Regions from separate parts of the Homo sapiens genome. Here region 1 is linked to region 2. Evidence: promoter capture Hi-C in 16 types of primary human blood cells and fetal thymus (Javierre and others, 2016). All regions are on one chromosome and are shown on one strand. The core of a region is centred on a gene start or on the middle of the fragment in contact, and the rest is flanking DNA. Distances in the headings are between cores, read along the strand shown. Region 1 overlaps LIN7A (lin-7 cell polarity scaffold A). Region 2 holds the start of LIN7A (lin-7 cell polarity scaffold A).

Region 1 (2,700 bases), core at 180-2,679, 140 kb after region 2:
CACCACTGCACTCCAGCTTGGGCAACGGAGGAAGACACTGTCTCAAAAAAAAAAAAAAAAAGTTAGACTCATAGAAGTAGAGAGTAGAATAGTGATTATCAGAGGTAGAGGAGAAGGGTGATCGGGGAAAGAAAGGGGAGAAGTTGACCAAAGGGTATAAAGTTTCAGTTAGACAGGAGGAATAAGCTTTAGTGATCTATTGCACAGAATGATGAGTTAAATAATAATATCTATTTCAAAATTGTTAAAAGGATAGCTTTTAAATATTTCCACCACAAAAAATAAGTATGTGTGGTGATAAAATGTGTTAATTATTTTATCTGGTTTAATCATTTCACATTTTAAACATATCAAAACATCAATTCAATATATTTATACATCACAAATTTATTTGTACATCACAAATTTGTACATCACAAATGTATACAATTATTATTTGCCAATTGAATATACAATTTTAAAAATATATCTTGTAATTCTGTAGGATAGAAGTCCAACACAGTTTTACTGGGCTTTAGGAGGCTCTAGGGGAAAATTCATTGCTTCCTGGGCCCTTCCTCCATCTTCAAAACGAGTAGCGGTAGTGGAATCCTTCTCACATTGCATTTCTCTGACCTCTGCCTTCATCACAACGCTGTTTTCTGTCCCCCTCTTTCACTTTTGTTGTTGTCTTGGTGCTTGCAAAACTGTTAATTTATTTCTATTGATTTACATTTGATGTTTGTGTATGAAAGTGACACTTTTTCATTGCAAAATTTTTAGACAGTAGAGAAGTATAAAGAATAAATTAACTTTTCAGCTATAATCTCACTTCATTTTAGTACACAGTTTTTTCTCCAGAAATGTTATTTCTATATATGTATGTTTATATGTATGTTTATATATATATATATATGCTTATTTTCACTCATATTTTACATGCTAAATTATAACCTGATTTTTAAAAATTAAACAATATGGTTAACATTAGTAGACTTAGGTCTACATTTTAAATATCTGTGTAAAGTTTTAATTTCTAGGTATACAATAATCAATCTCTTCTGAATGGACATTAAGGTCATTAACATTTTTAAATCTTGTTGGATTTGATTTGCTAACTTTTGTTGAGGGTTTTTAAATTTATGTTCTTGAGAGATATTGGTCTGTAGTTGGTTTTTTTTTCTTCTAGTGTCTTCGTCTGGCTTTGGTATTAATGTAATGCTGGCCATATAGAATGAGTTAGGAAATATTCGCTCTGCTTCTATCTGATATGCTGAAAGCAATTATAGACAATTGGTATAACTTATTTCTTAAATTTTGGTAGAATTCTCCAGTGAACCTATCAGGGTCGGGTGCTTCCTGCTTTGGAAGGCTACTAAGTATTGATTCGATTTCTTTTATAAATATAGACCTATTCAAATTGTCTATTTCTTCTCATGTGAGTTTTAGCAGATTGTGTCTTTTTTTTTTTTTTTTTTTTTTTTTTTTTTGAGACGGAGTTTCACTCTTGCTGCCCAGGCTGGAGTGCAATGGCACGATCGCAGCTCACTGCAACCTCCACCTCCCGGGTTCAAGCAATTCTCCTGCCTCAGCCTTCCGAGTAGTTGGGATTAGAGGCATGCGCCACCACACCCAGCTAATTTTGTATTTTTAGTAGAGACCAGTTTTCTCCATGTTGGTCAGACTGGTCTCAAACTCCCGACCTCAGATGATCCGCCAGCCTCGGCCTCCCAAAATGCTGGGATTACAGGTGTGAGCCACCGTACCCGGCCCAGACTGTGTCTTTCAAGGAATTGTCCATTTCATCTAGGTTATCAAAATGGTGGATATAAAGTTGTTCATAGTATTTTTTTACTATGCTTTTAATGTCCATGGTATTTGTAGTGATGTGACCACTTTCATTTCTAATAGAAGTAATAATTTGTGTCTTCTCTTCCTTTTTGTTAGCTTGGCTAGAAGTTTATTGATTTTATCCGTCTTTTTATTTTATTTTTTTCGAGATGAAGGGTCTTGCTATGTTGCCTAGGCTGGACTTAAATTCCTGGGCTCACATAGTTCTTCCATCTCAGTCTCCTAAGTAGCTGGGACTACAGGCATGCACCACAGTGCTTGGTTTTTATTGATCATTTTAAATAATCAGCTTTTGATTTCATTGATTTTCTCTATTAATTTCCTATTTTCAATTTCATTGATTTCTTCCACATTAATTTTTATTAATGAAAAATTAATCTTCATTAATGTTTATTATTTGTTTTCTTCTGCTTACTTTGGATATAATTTGCCCTTTTTCTAGTTTCCTAAGGAAGAAGCATAGATGATTGATTTTTTGGTTCCCACAACTTATCAAAACATTTTTATTTTTTATTTTTACTTGGTTCAAAATATTCTTAAATTTCTCTTGTGATTTTTTTTCTTTGACTCATCCCTCTTCCACTTTTAATTACATTGGATTGAACTAAATAATCCAGGGTTATTTCCCTATTTTAACATAGGCTTCTTAGCAACCTTAATTTCATTTACAACCTTAACTGCCCTTTATCATGTAATCAAACATATTTATAGTTTATGGAGATTAGGATGTGGACTTAACATTTAGTGGACGAGGAGGCACTATTCTGCCTACCACAATGGCTCTTTTAAGAGTTAGTAGGCAATTTGATCAACAAGACACACTAATATGGAAAAGAAGCTTTTCTTAAAAATAAATTGTTAATCAGTTAA
Region 2 (3,004 bases), core at 307-2,806:
GGTAGAATTAGTTTCCTCATATGACAGATCTCTGTGACATTGAATGATATTATTTCCATTGTATGACAGAGGAGGAAACAGGATCAGTGAGAGATTGTGTGACTTCCGAAGAGTACATGACTAAGACTCAAATGTCAAGATCAGCATTCTTTCTTAAATACTAAATAAAAATAAACATATCGAACTACTATTTTAGGTTTGTTCTTAGGGTCTGTTAAGTCTATATATGGCCAATCATCTTTGGCTTTCCCACATTGGTGAAATGTTGTTTTTTAAAATTCAATTGTAGACTATAAAATGAAAAAGACCTTCAGAAATCCTATCTGTAATCAGAAGAAAATGGCATCAATTATATGCAAATATTTTGCTATAAAACAGTATCTGCCTTTTAGAGTTTATTGTTAGCCCAAACAATTCAGCTCTGTCACAGGAAACAAGATGGAGGCAGCTTTGTCATTTCCAATCCTGCACCCACAGTCACCCCTATTCAGCTTATAGAAGGTTTCTTTATGTTTCTTGATTTCGTAGTCAGGAAATGAATCCCTACTATGACAAGATAGTGAAAGTAGCCTTTTTATTGGGGCGAAGAGGTCACAGCCAGTATTTGAAGGCTCTCGTAATTTAATCCTGATCAACTGACTCTAAAGTCAGGTTTTTAATAACACCATCTCCCACTAGATTACAGGCTACAGGAAGTCGGAGACTAAATTGAACTCCTAAATCAAGGCGTGGCACAAGGCAATGTAACTCTTCTATCTCAATTCCTGGCATATATGTTAATCAATCGATAAGTGGCATCTCTGAACCACTGGTTAGAAATCAACATGAAAAGTGCTAGGTACATATTTTTCAAACGTAGTCATAGACAACCAAAATCAGTTTGGACATTAAGAGCAAAGTTTTTGTTGCTGGGTGGGTGAGGGGGAGTGGGGCATGTTTACAGGATGTGGTATGTAAAAAATTCGGAGAAAATCTGAACACTGTACTTGTTTCTAAGCTACATTTACTGAATTGGTAATGTATTAACAGTGGCTTGAAAAAGAAAAACTTAGCGATAGAAACTTACCTACACGTTTTTTATTTTGAAGCACTTTTAAGAGGTTTGCCTTTTTTTTTTTTTTTCTCCAGGCAATATACTCAGGTCCTAAATGAACATCTACTGATGGAACGCTGGCCTTTAGTCAGTTATCTTTATATGCCGTTATAGGTCAACATTCCGAAAAACTTCAACAGAAATTAACTGCAAATGTAATTACATCCCAAACATTTCTGATAATGGAAGCATTTTCTCTCTAAAGGGGATGGGATTATTGGATTGGCAATTTCTCTTAATCTGAGAAAACTCATCTCCCACTCCCTTCCCCATATCCCCTTTCCATCCTCTCTCTTCCCCTTATACACACACGCACCCGCATGCACACACGTATATTCTGACCATTTTATTAGAGTGGAAAGTTGAAAGGAAGCAACCCGCCAGCTACACCCACCCAGCGCTCCTGGGGGTGGAATAGCAAAGTTCTAGGGCAGAGCCTTCCCTCCCAGAGCCCGGCGATGCAGTCGCTCTCGGATACCTGCTCAGCTCCGCACCGCAACTGAAGATCTGCCGCCGCGGAACAGTTGCGTCTCCATCTGGCTACCAACCCACCCAAGCTTTCTTCTCCACCACCACCACCTTCCTTCCTTCCCCCTCCTCCCCCTCCTTTCCGTCTTCCCTCTCCACCCCCGCCCCCAATCTCCTCCTTTTTTTCTCACTACGAGCGGTTGCTGATGCTGAAGCCGAGCGTCACTTCGGCTCCCACGGCAGACATGGCGACATTGACAGTGGTCCAGCCGCTCACCCTGGACAGAGGTAAGGGAGCGGCTCGCTCGCCAGGCCACCGCGTCCCCTCTCCCCTCCTCCCTTCCCCGCCTGCCAATTCCCAACGGGACATGGGACGCGCTCAGGCAGGAGGAGAAGGGGAACGAGGACGAGCCAGGAAGGCGTTCGCGCCGAGAACAGAACACTTTCTTCCCCTTTCTCTCCCCGCTACGTTCCCGCTGCCCCTTCCCACTGTACTCGCCCCGCCGAGGGGACGCCTCCTTCTGGCTCTGGGGTCCCCGCTGCCACTCCCAGCCCCTCGCCGGGTCGTCTCCGGTCCTCTGGCTTTGTTGGAGCCGCTGCGCGGGGACGGCTATAGGCGCCAGGGGCTCGGGGTTGGAGAGGGGCAGAGAGCAAGCTCGCCCGGCCAGAGCCCAGAGGAGACCGGCGAGGGAGCCGCCTGTCAGCTTGCTTGGCGCAGGGGCCCGGGAGGAAGGAAGTTTGTCCAGGCGCCGGAGGGCGAGGGTCGGTCCAACTGCTGGAGTCCCGGCGGCCACTCGGGGGGCGGGCTGGGCGCACCCCTGGGCTGCCGGGCGCACAGTGGCGGGGCTGCAGCAGGCAGGGAGCTGCCCTCTGCCGAAAGGGCAAGGCAGAGCGCGGGGAGCCGAGCCCCAGCAGCCGAGATCGGCTCTCCGCGGCTTCGAGATCGAAAGCGGCGAGGGTCGCGTCTGCTCCCGCCGCCGGCAGCTCCCGGTCGATAGCAACTCTCGGCTTCTCCCGCGCCAGCCTCTCGTGTCCTCTCCCAGCTCGGTGCCACCGCGGCGCCCAGGCTGCGGAAGGCGCGGGGACAAAGCGCAGGTCGGGTTAAAATTCAACTTCTGACCTGCCACCCAGTGAGTCCTGCTCTCTGACTTGAACGGGGAAAGTGTTCGCTTCCTCCCCAGGACGCCCTCACAAGCTCAGGGATGGAGTCCTCCGCTGCGATCGGGGCCTCACTGGTGCACCCCTGTGGGGTTATACCTGTCCCTGAGTGTGTGGGTTTCCTTCCTGGCTCCAGCGTCCAGTGATGAAGGCGCTCGAGTCCTACGGCTCTGCAGAGGAGGACACCCTCTAGTCCCTCTCCGCAGCCGCCGGATTTAGGACCCTGGGCGGCCATTTGGAAATGGTGTACTCAGAAGAAAATGATTTAGTCCGATGTACCTCTAA

The links. Contacts are between HindIII fragments. The CHiCAGO score rates a contact against its expected background, and 5 or more counts as called.
Region 1: a fragment that was not itself captured here is called in contact with the fragment with the promoter of LIN7A in region 2 in 1 of 17 cell types (neutrophils); the score reaches 6.1 in neutrophils.

Annotation. Positions count from the first base shown.
Region 1 is chr12:80,799,259-80,801,958 of GRCh38, reverse strand. All of the region lies in intron 5 of LIN7A (lin-7 cell polarity scaffold A), which reads left to right. Among named protein-coding and RNA genes, the nearest start is that of MIR617, 32 kb to the left of the region's middle. The HindIII fragment of the contact is 2,482 bases long and covers 189-2,670 here.
Region 2 is chr12:80,936,486-80,939,489 of GRCh38, reverse strand. LIN7A (lin-7 cell polarity scaffold A) reads left to right here and starts at 1,556. Exons shown (of 6, transcript NM_004664.4): 1 at 1,556-1,849. The coding sequence starts at 1,768. RefSeq lists a silencer at 2,219-2,428. The HindIII fragment of the contact is 1,862 bases long and covers 1-1,652 here.